Linked DNA regions of Homo sapiens: all the other regions are linked to region 4. The links are contacts of gene promoters, found by promoter capture Hi-C in human tissues and cell types (Jung and others, 2019). All regions are on one chromosome and are shown on one strand. The core of a region is centred on a gene start or on the middle of the fragment in contact, and the rest is flanking DNA. Distances in the headings are between cores, read along the strand shown. Region 1 overlaps PSMD13 (proteasome 26S subunit, non-ATPase 13). Region 2 overlaps RIC8A (RIC8 guanine nucleotide exchange factor A). Region 3 holds the start of RASSF7 (Ras association domain family member 7). Region 4 holds the start of PKP3 (plakophilin 3).

Region 1 (3,314 bases), core at 157-2,656, 140 kb before region 4:
CAGACAACTCACTTTTGAAGAAATTGCCAAAAGTGCTAAAATCACAGTGAATGAGGTACGGTCCCTAGGCTCAGGGTGTTAGAGCAGCAAAGCTGCCACATGGAGGAGTCAAGGCTCTTGTGTGAGCGCTGTGCTCCCTAGACAGTAAAAAATGACGGGAGGAGCGGCATCTGCTTCTCACAAGCCATCTGGGTCCATGGGGGTGTGTCAGGCTATCTTGTCTTACACACGCCTCCCTCTCTGCACAGGTGGAGCTTCTGGTGATGAAGGCCCTTTCGGTGGGGCTGGTGAAAGGCAGTATAGACGAGGTGGACAAACGAGTCCACATGACCTGGGTGCAGCCCCGAGTGTTGGATTTGCAACAGGTGATGTGTTTGAAACCCATTATTCACCTCTGTGGATTTTGAGGGGTTGTGTCTATACCGTCTTAGTTTCATTTGGATGGAAGCCATTTGGGAAGACAGCATTATTAGACAAGAGGTTTTGGAGAAGGAAATACTGCTGTTGGGTTTTTCTAAGAGCCTAATTTAATGCAAGCCTAGGGTTTGAACCCTGCATTTAAAAGCTTATGATGACAATGGCACTGGTTGTGCTGACGGTGCCTTTTAATCTTAAGATAGGAGCTCTGATCAGATACGTTCCTGGTTCTGTGATTTGAGCTCACGTCGCTCTTACATTTGCTGGAAATGCGATCCTGTGGATTTCCTCTGTCCTTGTCTGCTTTCTTTCATGCAAGTTTTTTCTAACGTTCCTGTGAAAAGAATTAACCCGGCAAGTCCCGTCCCACTCCCCCAGCTCAGAGGTCCTTTTTACTAGAGCTGCCCTAGAGAGTTAGCTGGAGATGTAGAGTCACCCCATCAGGTGCTGTGCCGGCCGCTCGGCCTGTGTCTCCTGCGTGTCTTAACGTCCCTTGTGTCCGGATTTCCATTTCAGATCAAGGGAATGAAGGACCGCCTGGAGTTCTGGTGCACGGATGTGAAGAGCATGGAGATGCTGGTGGAGCACCAGGCCCATGACATCCTCACCTAGGGCCCCCTGGTTCCCCGTCGTGTCTCCTTTGACTCACCTGAGAGAGGCGTTTGCAGCCAATGAAGCTGGCTGCTCAGACGGTCGACATTGAATTTGGGTGGGGGTTGGGATCCTGTCTGAAGTACAGACTGTTCTTGCTCTAAAAACAGGACTGTCCCTGATGGGAGCCAGGCCACAGGGAGGAGGCTTCTTTGTGGGTCTCTCCTGCAGAGGGTGGGGGTCTCAGGGTCTTAGGTGATACGGGAGAGAAAGAACGTGCCAGGCAGGAGGCCCCCTGAAGTCTGTGTACTCCGAGGTGGATCTCCATCCCCATCCACCTGTACGGACATCTTTTCCGTTGCGGTTTGAGAATGTTCCTATAATAAACCCCTCTGCTTTGTTCTTCTTGTGGCTCTGTTTTCTTGGGCTTAGCTTCCAGGCCAAGCCTGTGCCTGGAGGTTAAAAAGCATGAGTTGGAACCTTGGGAAGACACGGTGGGGGTAGCCTTGGCCCTTCTCCTCCCTGCACATACAGTAGACGGGCAGAATCCAGCACCAAGGACTAACGAAGACGCTGGTCCTATCTTTATTGTTAGTCAAGAGAGACCTAGGGGTATCCACTCCCTTCTCCAGCCCTCTCAGGTACCTGCCCCGACACAGGCATCCATCCACATCCTTGTCACCACTCATCATTCAAATAGCCACCAGCATCTGTGACCTGGTGTGCCCCAGTGCGGACATGAGCCATCCCTGGGACTGGGCATGTAAAGGAAACCACCTTGAGGTTCCCCGTCTGGGAGTGGAGGTGCACGTACACAAAGAATCACAGAGTGAACATTAGGTGGAAGGACAGTTTAATGTGATCTTTCAGTCCTGGGCCTGCAGTGACAGCATGGAGCTCTTGCAGCTCTCCAGGTCGGGTGAGACCCAGCCTCCAGGAACCAGGAAGCTGATGAATGTGAGAGCCCCACGGCCTGCTCCTGTTGGAGGAAAGCACCCACAAGTCTGCTAGGCTGGCAAAGAACAGTTGTCCGGCATCTTCTCCAGCCTTTTCCTCTTTGGTTGCTGGTGTCTGAGCTCCTGGTTTTTTCCACCTCGTCCAGGCCTCGCCTGACCTCATGGCCCCAGACCCCTCTCGGTCTTTCCACCCACCCTCTCCAGACCTCGTTTGGCCCTGGTCCAGATGGCCTGACACCCCAGCTGTTCCTCGTCAGTCACAATTGCTGGGATCTATTGACCACTAGCCTTTATACCCACCTCACTGTCAAGTTCCCAAGGCCCTGTGGTGCACCCTTCAACCTTCCGCAGCCCCTCTCAGCTGCTCAGGCCAAATGTCTTAGTGTGAGCCTCCATTTCCCTCAGACACTCATGTGTACATCGAGCCCGCTGACTCCCCACCCTCCCTAAGTCCAGCCTCAAACCTGTCCTCCATAACCGCTCCTCCACACAGCAGCCCAGACAGTCTTCCAGAACAATCAGGTCTTGTTGCTGCCGCTGCTCAGCATCCTCCAACAGGCTTCACTCACCCCCAAGGCCTGAGTGCTCTGACCACTGCCTGCCTTGCTGGTCCTGCTCCTACCCTCATCTGCTCTCCCTGCACCCCACCAAGGCTCCTGCCTCATCCCAGACATGAGCTGATCACAGCCCAGAGAGACACAATTCTGCATGCTGAAATCCCGAAAAATCAAAATTCTGAAAATATATTTCTGGAAAAAATAATTTTAAAATTATTTAAAAGATATTTATTTACTTTTTTTTCATTTTTTTATTTTTGAGACGGAGTTTCACTCTTGTTGCCCAGGCTGGAGTGCAATGGCACCATCTCCGCTCACTGCAACCTCTACCTCCTGGGTTCAAACAATTCTGCCTCAGCCCTCTGAGTAGCTGGGATTACAGGCGCCTGCCACCACACCTGGCTAATTTTGTATTTTTAGTAGAGATGGGGTTTCTCCATGTTGGTCAGGCTGGTCTCAAACTCCTGACCTCAGGTGATCCGCCCGCCTCAGCCTCCCAAAGTGCTGGGGTTACAGGCATGAGCCACCACGCCTGGCCATCTATTTACATTTTTAAAGGGGATTTATTTGAGAAACATAAAAACATGACATATGACAGAACACATCATAGGCCACTTCACACAATAAAATAGACAATAATAATATCCATGTTTCTGCAAGTGTAAACAGTCATACCAATGACAGTTATGCACAGATGAGCTGTATTCGTAAAGAAATGTGTTGAGAGGGGAAATGCATGAACACCTACCGCTCGGGTGGGAATTGCGTGCGCCCAGGTTCATAACTGCAGTCT
Region 2 (2,836 bases), core at 54-2,553, 180 kb before region 4:
ACTGTCTAAGGCCGGGCGTGGTAGCTCACGCCTATAATCCCAGCACTTTGGGAGACTGAGGCAGGTAGATCACAAGGTCAGGAGATCGAGACCATCCTGGCCAACATGGTGAAACCCCATCTCTGCTAAAATACAAAAAAAAAGTTAGCTGGGCGTGGTGGTGGGCGCCTGTAGTCCCAGCTGCTCGGGAGGTTGAGGCAGGGGAATCACTTGAACCCAGGAGGCAGAGCTTGCAGTGAGCTGACATTGTGCCACCGCACTCCAGCCTGGCAACAGAGTGAGACTTCGTCTCAAAAAAAAAAAAGAGACTAATGTCGCCAGATTTATTGGAGATGGCCCAGTGTCCAAATTAAGAGCCTGCTTAAGGCCAATTTAGATGTTTAAAATAGGAAACTGCTTAAAGCCAGGAGGCAGCAGTTAGGGTTTGGGCCCAGTTAACAGAAGGTCCAACCAGGCTTCCCCAGTAAATGGGAGCAGCCTACTTGGTAGAGAGGAAGGTAGCAGCCACGGGTGAGTAGGACCCCTGCCTGGCCAACTGGGCCCCTTCCCCAGCCCCACTGCACCTTTCCCCAACAGGAACAGAGTCATCCAGCCAATGGGGATGAGTCCCCGGGGTCATCTTACGTCCCTGCAGGATGCCATGTGCGAGACTATGGAGCAGCAGCTCTCCTCGGACCCTGACTCGGACCCTGACTGAGGATGGCAGCTCTTCTGCTCCCCCATCAGGACTGGTGCTGCTTCCAGAGACTTCCTTGGGGTTGCAACCTGGGGAAGCCACATCCCACTGGATCCACACCCGCCCCCACTTCTCCATCTTAGAAACCCCTTCTCTTGACTCCCGTTCTGTTCATGATTTGCCTCTGGTCCAGTTTCTCATCTCTGGACTGCAACGGTCTTCTTGTGCTAGAACTCAGGCTCAGCCTCGAATTCCACAGACGAAGTACTTTCTTTTGTCTGCGCCAAGAGGAATGTGTTCAGAAGCTGCTGCCTGAGGGCAGGGCCTACCTGGGCACACAGAAGAGCATATGGGAGGGCAGGGGTTTGGGTGTGGGTGCACACAAAGCAAGCACCATCTGGGATTGGCACACTGGCAGAGCCAGTGTGTTGGGGTATGTGCTGCACTTCCCAGGGAGAAAACCTGTCAGAACTTTCCATACGAGTATATCAGAACACACCCTTCCAAGGTATGTATGCTCTGTTGTTCCTGTCCTGTCTTCACTGAGCGCAGGGCTGGAGGCCTCTTAGACATTCTCCTTGGTCCTCGTTCAGCTGCCCACTGTAGTATCCACAGTGCCCGAGTTCTCGCTGGTTTTGGCAATTAAACCTCCTTCCTACTGGTTTAGACTACACTTACAACAAGGAAAATGCCCCTCGTGTGACCATAGATTGAGATTTATACCACATACCACACATAGCCACAGAAACATCATCTTGAAATAAAGAAGAGTTTTGGACAAAAATGTATGTGTAAATTATCAAATAAAGGGGCCAGGCACAGTGGCTCATGCCTGTAATCCCAGCACTTTGGGAGGCCGAGGTGGGTGGATCACTTGAAGCCAGGAGTTCGAGACCAGCCTGGCCAACATAGCAAAACCTTGTCTCTATTACAAATATGCCCATGTGCTAGGTGTGGTGGGACACACCTGTAATCCCAGCTACCCAGGAGAATCGCTTAAACCCGGGAGGCGGAAGTTGCAGTGAGCTGAGATCATAACACCGCACTCCACCCTGAGTGACAGGGCAAGACTCAAAAAATAAAAAAGGAACATTAACTAGGGTTAGAAACTAACTTCATTCTTTTTAGAATTCAACAGTTTTCCTAGGTCACCAATTCCACCTTTTGTTCTTATTAAGGCGCAAAGTCACAGGACCCCCTTCCTGGGAGTCACTGTCATTAAATCTATTGCCGTCAGCTCAGCCCAGGGTAGGCAAGGTTCAAGAATGGGAAGTGCTTTTGTCTGGGGAAACACGCAGGTAATGTGATGCTAGGAAGGAGGATGTGCAGGTGGGTGAGAGCCCAGGAGGGAGCAGCTGGTGCCTGACAGGGTGAGCCATCAGGGCTGGGCCTGGGTACAGCCCCAGGAGAAGGAGCCTGTGCAGAAGTAGCAGTTCAGTGGATTCCACCTCCTATGTCACAATCCAGCAGGTGGCCAGGACTCAGCCTGGGTTTTAAGTGAGTAATGCCTTCCCTGTCTCAGAGATTAGCTCTAACAGTGTCACTAGAGGAAGCCCTGGCGAGGGTGGGGGGGCGTAGTGTGGGGACAAGGAGGCCAGATAGAAAGTGCTGGAATGTTCTGGAACAGATCTGTTTCTGGAGGAGAGGCTGAGTATGGAGAGTCAACAGAATGTGACCACCTTCAGAGGGAGGAGCTGGGCCGTCTCCAATAAATCCAGGGACAAATGCCTTCAGTCCTCAGACTGTTCCAATAGAGGGGACGCCACGTATCCCAGGGTTCCCTTTCCAACTCATGTCAACACCTGCAGTCCCTTTGAGGAGACTAAATGTATTTCATGCTGGAAAGAACAGATTTTCTCTCATTAAAAATAGCCCCACTAAAGGAGACCAACATGCTAGAAGTGCGGCACCAGGGCCTCAAGACTACACTTCGGAACATGAAGAGGGCTGGGGACCGCTCGGCCCAAGTCTGGATCTTGTAACCAACAGATGCCGAGCTTGCCGTTCAACTAGGCACAGAAAGCAGACTCGGTCTGGGATTCCAGTTGGTCTGATTCAGTTCAAGAGGGTCACAGTCAGAAGAAAGCTTTTTCCATTAGGAGCTTCAGCAGAGTGAAGAGTTCAACACAGCAAACAGGCAGGCAGCTCCTTTGTATATGT
Region 3 (2,981 bases), core at 482-2,981, 170 kb after region 4:
CCCTGGCGTGTACCCCTGCCACCCAGGTGCTGGCCCTTTGCCTGTGATGTGGTGTCCCTCTTTCTCTCTCTTGTCCCCCCAGCTCAGGGCCCTACCCCCAGCACTCACCTGAGGCCCGACCTCCAAGCAGGCCTGGGAGGGAAGGGCTGTATACCGTTGCCATGGATACCAGCACCCAGAAGGGGTGGGGCTGTTTGTTACCAGGAGCCTCCAGGGAGACCCCAGACCAGGCCCCTAGGTGAGTTCTGGGCCAGCCCAGCCTGGAGGAGGTGTGAGAGGCTGAGCCACTGCTCAGCTTAGCGGGGGGACCACTTAGTGACCAACACCCTGAGGGAGGCCCCAGCATCCCCTACCTAGCCTGGCAGCAGCAGCGGGATAAATAGGGGGGCACTGCTGCCTGTGAGCCAGCCCAGCATAGCCATGGGTGTGTGGGGGAAGCAGACAGGTAACAGTGACAAGCTGGGGACTGTGCTGAACGCTAACTGGCAATAGTACACTCCTGCCCACAGCCTGTTTTTAAATTAATAATTAATTCTTTAGAGACAGGGTCTTGCTCCGCTGTCCAGGCTGGAATGCTTCGGTGTGATGACAGCGCACGTTAACCTCGAATTCCTGGGCTCAGGTGATCCTCCCACTTCCGCCTCCTGACTTGCTGAAACTACAGGCACCCGCCTCCACCGCCAGGCCCAGCCCACAGCTCCTTTGACCTCAGTGACAGGCACTCACCTACCTGACCCCCAAACTGAAGCCTCACTTTTCCCAGCCGTGTCCACACCCTCTGGGCTACCCCATTACCATGACAAGTATTCCCTCTGCTCCAGGAGAAAAGCCAGGTCCCAGACCTGACCCATTAAAACCCAATCATTCCAGCTTTCACCCTTCATCTCTGCAACTTTCGGCTATGTAAGGGCTCCCTGGGGGAGCACAGGAGACAGGCGGGCAGGAGGCCCACGCCCACAACTCTTTCTGAGCTGGGCAGAACAATCAATGGCCCACACAGCTGACCGCGAGGCTGCGGGGCCCTGGGCGGGACAGTAGGGTAGGGGGTGAAGGAGCGGCTTCCAGCCAGCTTCACTGTGTGCATGGCCTGGCACTGGGTCCAAAAGGGGCAGGAAGGTGTCGGAGAAGAGCCTCAGCTAGAGTCCGGGCCTTCTGAGCGGGCACCTCCCGCACCAGGACTCTGCGCCCGCCAGCTCCGCAGGGCTCCACCTCCCTCGCCGGGACTGGTGACCCTGCGACCCCGCGACCCCTGCGCGTCCAGACTACTGCAGCTGCGGTAGGCCCCAAAGGCTGGCCCGGGAAGCGAGGGGAGGGGCTGGCCCCGCTGCCCCTGGACGCAGGCGGGGGTTGCGGGATCTCAAGCCAGAGACCCTTCCTGGGCGGGAACCCGCCACACTAGAAGGCTGCTGAGGAAGTCGGCCCAGGAGCGGGGCCAGACACCTACCCCGACGCCTGCCCGCGGGCCGCAGCCACCGCATTTCCGCGTTTTTCGCGGTAGGCGGGAGGTGGGGGCGGGGACTGCGGCTCGGCGCCCCCCTCCGACCCGCCCACACCTGTAGTCTCGGGGGGGGCGGGGCGCGGCGACGAGCCAATGGGTCGGGGAGGGGCGTGACAGAGGCAGCCAATGGGCGCGGGGAGGGGGCGGAACGCCCGCGCTGAGCAGCCAATAGGGGTGCTAGGGGCGGGGCGTGCGGACCGCGGGCCAATGGGGGCGCGGGGCCCGGGTGCGCCGCGGCGCTGGGGGCGGCAGGTTGCGGCGGCGCCGGAGCGGGTCTCCAGGCTGGCGAGCGCCCAGGTGAGCCGCGCCGGGTCCCCGGTACTTGGGAGCGCGGGGCGCGCCTCGAGCCGGCCGGACGCCGACTCCAACTGGGGAGAGTTTTCCGCGATGCCCGGACGGAGAGCGGGGGCGGCGCCGCACCTGCGCCCGCCCTGCGGAACGGGGACGCCCTGGCTCCCGCCAGGCTGGGGTCGCGGCGCGGGCTTCGGTGCCCGCGGCGGGGACCGGGACTTTCGGGGCGAGCGCAGCGATTAGGCGGCAGCGGCGGGGCTCCCCGGGCTGGCGGGGGCTGCTCAGACCCGGAGTCTGCTCCATCTGCAGGGTCGAGGTCTGGGTTGCGACCCCGAGCGCCTCTGCGGCCTGAGCAGGTCGGGGTGGGGCGTTCCCATGCCGGCGGCCGCGGGGCCTGGCGTGCGGGCGCCTCCGCGCCGCCCGGGGAGGGGGCAGTGTCCTCCGAGCCAGGTGAGGCGAGTAGGAAATGCTGGATCTGGTTAATGATTCGCCTTGTTCCGGGAGTGCGAGCGTGGCAAGAGGAAGCTGGTGAAGTGGGGGAGGATGCGTGCTCCGGAGGGCCGCCACCCCAGGAATGTGTGGCTGGCGGGTGGGGCTGGCACAGGAGGGTGGGGCCCGTGCGGAGGGGCGGCAGCCCAGCCGTTTCTAGGGCAGGCCAAGAGGATGAGGAGAGGAGGACCAGCCTGCGATAGGAGTAGGCAGGTCCTGACCCGGTGCCTGCGCCCTCCCCACAGGACAGGCATGTTGTTGGGACTGGCGGCCATGGAGCTGAAGGTGTGGGTGGATGGCATCCAGCGTGTGGTCTGTGGGGTCTCAGAGCAGACCACCTGCCAGGAAGTGGTCATCGCACTAGCCCAAGCAATAGGTGAGTCCTCTCGGGGTCAGGCAGGCCGGGCAGGTAGAGCTGAAGTGGGACCTGGTGGTCCAGCTCCATGGTCTCCCCCAAGGAGAGTGGGGCTGGTTGCTGATCCTTTTTGTTCTTCCCAACTCTTCAAGCCAGGTGGACAGAGAGTCGGGGGGACATAGGCTGACCTTCTCCTCTTCTTCCCAGGCCAGACTGGCCGCTTTGTGCTTGTGCAGCGGCTTCGGGAGAAGGAGCGGCAGTTGCTGCCACAAGAGTGTCCAGTGGGCGCCCAGGCCACCTGCGGACAGTTTGCCAGCGATGTCCAGTTTGTCCTGAGGCGCACAGGGC
Region 4 (3,054 bases), core at 349-2,848:
CACGCGCCGGGCCAGGGATGGAGTCCTGGACACCTCGGCCGTCAGCAGTGGCCTCTGGGATGAGCTGGGAGGCTGGCGGGATCCGGACCACGAGCCGGGTAGGTCTCCCACCCCTTCCCCACCACCCCGACCCCACCTGGTGGCCCCAGCCCGGGCCTCACCCATCCTTTCAGTGGACCTTCCCCTCCCCCTTTAACCCCCCACGCTGACCTCCGACTCCTACTCTCCAGCTTCCTCCCCTCAGAACTGACCTCACCCTTAATGCTGCCTCCTAACCCTGACCCGGCCCTCACGCCAGACCCCTGCCCCAGCCCCATTAAGGCAAAAATCTTCCAGGGACGGAGCTAGGGGGCAAGGGTCTGCCCTGGAGGAGAGCCCAGAGCCAGGGTCCAGGGTCCAGGGAGAAGCAGAGGCTGTCCGATGAGCTCGTGAGAGAAGCCCAGAGGTTGTCATAGATGTTCAGCTCCCACCCCCAGCCCTCCTAGGCTTATCCCCACCCCCATCTACCAGGGGCTTGTCCCAGAGGCTAGAGGGCCTCAGAGCCCATTTGCTGGCTGTGGTGCTAGAAGGAGACCTTCTGGGCACAAGCCCTGCTTGGTCCAGGGCCCCCCCACCAGGGGCCCCCCACTACCCCACCCCCACCAGGGGCCCCCCACCCTCGCTCCCTCTCCATCCAGGCCTCTGCTCTTCCAGACCCCTGGTTCTTCCCTGCACACCCGCTCCTGCCCCAGCCTGACATGCGCTGACAGGAGTGCAGGCCCTCTGAGTCAACCCCCTGGGGCGGCCCCGCCCCCCTGCACCCTGACTCATGTGCTGGGAACGGCCTCCCACCCCAGGGCCTGGGGTGCAGGAGCAGTGGTGCCAGGGTCCCAGAAGCCAGAGAGGGTTTTGGAGGCCTCTGTAGGGGGTGAGGGGGTCCTGGGGGTGAGTTCCAGGGTCTGCAGGCTTCGGGGGAGGGCCGGTCCATCCACATGCTTCCTGGTGCGGAGGGGGCTCGCTGGATTCCAAGGACCAGGGCCAGGGCCTCCATGGAGTCCCGTTGGACCCTAAAGCTCTGTCCCTCCAGCCTTTGTCCTGATCCCTGGCACTGACCCCTGACTCCCGACAGTGTCTCCTGCCAACCCTTCCTAGGCCTCATCCCCACCTCACCAGGAAGGCTGGGCTACCATGGAGGCTGGCTGATTCTTGGAGCTACCTAGGGCCCTAGACCCCCAGGGACTGGGGCACCCTCCCCTTCATGCTGGGGGTGGCAGGACATAGGCCCCCCGCAGGCCCCCTGCCCTTCCCTGACACTCAGGACACAGAGGGCCCCTCTGTCCCAGCCCCACGACAAAGGGCCCGGTCTGGCCTTTACAGGCTGAGAACAAGAAGGACCCAGGTCCCCGTGGCCCTGTTGTGGGATGGGAGAAAAGGAGGCGGGAGGCCAGGCTGGGACCTGGGGCCATGCAGGGCCTGTTCTTCCGCCCAAATTCCACCTTAAGCAGGCGGCGGCCCCTCCCTCCCACCTGGCCAGGTGTCCCCGCCCCCAGCTGCGCTCAGGGCTGGGCAGGCGTCTGTCTTCAGGCGGCTCTGGGTGAGGCTGGCTGGGCGGGGACTTCAGGGAGAGGGCCTCGAGGGACAGGACGTGAAGATAGTTGGGTTTGGAGGCGGCCGCCAGGCCCAGGCCCGGTGGACCTGCCGCCATGCAGGACGGTAACTTCCTGCTGTCGGCCCTGCAGCCTGAGGCCGGCGTGTGCTCCCTGGCGCTGCCCTCTGACCTGCAGCTGGACCGCCGGGGCGCCGAGGGGCCGGAGGCCGAGCGGCTGCGGGCAGCCCGCGTCCAGGAGCAGGTCCGCGCCCGCCTCTTGCAGCTGGGACAGCAGCCGCGGCACAACGGGGCCGCTGAGCCCGAGCCTGAGGCCGAGACTGCCAGAGGTAGGCGGTGGGGACAGCGGCGGGGATGGCGGTGGCGGGGAGAGGTGGCTGCGGGCGGACGTGATAGTGTGAGGGCAGAGGCCGCAGTGAGGCCGGCTCCTGACTCACCAGGCCTCACACTGAGTCACACACCCCGCCCCAGGGGCGTGGGGAGAAGCCATGGGTGGGGCTGCCCTGTCCAAGCAGGGACCCCGGGGTCCTCCAAAGACTGAGCCTGGCCAGGCCCCACCTGTGCCTGGAGTCCTGGAGCCATCCCTGTGGGGGATGACAGGGAAGGTTGGCACATGGCAGGCGGGCCAGGCCACTCGGTCGGCAAACCCGGAACACGCACGCGCCTGGCCCCGGTAGCACAGACTCACATAGGGTCTCAGGGACACCCAGACACCCACGCTCCTCCCATACCTCACGGGAATGAGCAGAACGGGAAAGCGGGGAGAGGTGTGGGGGTGCTGGAAGTCCTGGAGGAAAGCCAGGCCTGTCTGGACCAGGGGCTCCCTGAGGAATTAGAGGGGAGGGCCCGGCTGGAGTGACCTAGATTTCTCTGTGGGAACAGCAGGTGGAGGAGCACCCCTCGGTGCCAGCCAGACCCACCTGTGGCGGAATCCTGGCCCCACTCACGCGAGTGTGTGTGCATGCGTGTGAGTGTGAGTGACAGGAGCACAGACGCTGTGAGTTGAAGGCAGTGGTTCTAGGAACGCCATTTCCTCCTTCCCAGGCTACAGCAACAGGGATTAAGGTTAGACAGTAAGATGGACCTCCCAGAATGCCAGGGACCCAGATGCCAGTTCATCATGGTCCACTTGGTGTTTAGAGGGGCCTTCCCCAGGACTGGCCTCCAGCCACTGGCCAGGGGGAAGTGAAGGTCGCCCAGCGGAGGGGCCGGCCCGGCGGCCTGGACTGTGGGGTCCTCCCTCCAGGGGCCTCAGCCTTGCTGGTGACCAAGTCGGGTGCCCAGGGGTCATGGGGTGGAGGACGGTGAGGGAAGGGTTAATTACCACCCTGGCTGCCCTGCCAATTAGAGGGAGGTGGATTATAATTGGGGGGTGGGGGTGAGGTCCCCAGGCTGGGGCGTGCCCCCACTCCGGGCTGGGCCTCACGAGCGTCAGAGGGTTAATAGCCCCGGCCCAGAAGCCCCATTAA

Evidence for each region. Contacts are between HindIII fragments. The study calls those that stand out against the background at their distance.
Region 1: a contact is called between a fragment that was not itself captured here and the fragment with the promoter of PKP3 in region 4, in 4 of the 25 tissues and cell types used here (H1 embryonic stem cells, adrenal gland, aorta and 1 more).
Region 2: a contact is called between a fragment that was not itself captured here and the fragment with the promoter of PKP3 in region 4, in 9 of the 25 tissues and cell types used here (H1 embryonic stem cells, aorta, bladder and 6 more).
Region 3: the fragment with the promoter of RASSF7 here is called in contact with the fragment with the promoter of PKP3 in region 4 in 1 of the 25 tissues and cell types used here (pancreas).

Annotation. Positions count from the first base shown.
Region 1 is chr11:251,572-254,885 of GRCh38, forward strand. PSMD13 (proteasome 26S subunit, non-ATPase 13) reads left to right here. Exons shown (of 13, transcript NM_002817.4): 11 at 1-55; 12 at 249-365; 13 at 934-1,413. The coding sequence ends at 1,029. It also overlaps the pseudogene COX8BP. Among named protein-coding and RNA genes, the nearest start is that of PSMD13, 16 kb to the left of the region's middle. The HindIII fragment of the contact is 4,358 bases long and covers 1-3,314 here.
Region 2 is chr11:213,654-216,489 of GRCh38, forward strand. It overlaps RIC8A (RIC8 guanine nucleotide exchange factor A), which reads left to right. Exons shown (of 10, transcript NM_001286134.2): 10 at 577-1,460. The coding sequence ends at 697. SIRT3 (sirtuin 3) reads right to left here. Exons shown (of 7, transcript NM_012239.6): 7 at 1,377-2,836. Among named protein-coding and RNA genes, the nearest start is that of MIR6743, 5.7 kb to the left of the region's middle. The HindIII fragment of the contact is 6,100 bases long and covers 1-2,836 here.
Region 3 is chr11:559,239-562,219 of GRCh38, forward strand. It overlaps RASSF7 (Ras association domain family member 7), which reads left to right and starts at 1,732. Exons shown (of 6, transcript NM_003475.4): 1 at 1,732-2,239; 2 at 2,524-2,654; 3 at 2,841-2,981. The coding sequence starts at 2,531. It overlaps LMNTD2 (lamin tail domain containing 2), which reads right to left and starts at 1,500. Exons shown (of 14, transcript NM_173573.3): 1 at 1,445-1,500. The coding sequence starts at 1,478. LMNTD2-AS1 (LMNTD2 antisense RNA 1) reads left to right here and starts at 24. Exons shown (of 2, transcript NR_147607.1): 1 at 24-238; 2 at 541-868. RefSeq lists an enhancer at 2,535-2,981. The HindIII fragment of the contact is 35,948 bases long and covers 1-2,981 here.
Region 4 is chr11:392,611-395,664 of GRCh38, forward strand. It overlaps PKP3 (plakophilin 3), which reads left to right and starts at 1,599. Exons shown (of 13, transcript NM_007183.4): 1 at 1,599-1,914. The coding sequence starts at 1,683. RefSeq lists an enhancer at 1,052-1,814. The HindIII fragment of the contact is 50,700 bases long and covers 1-3,054 here.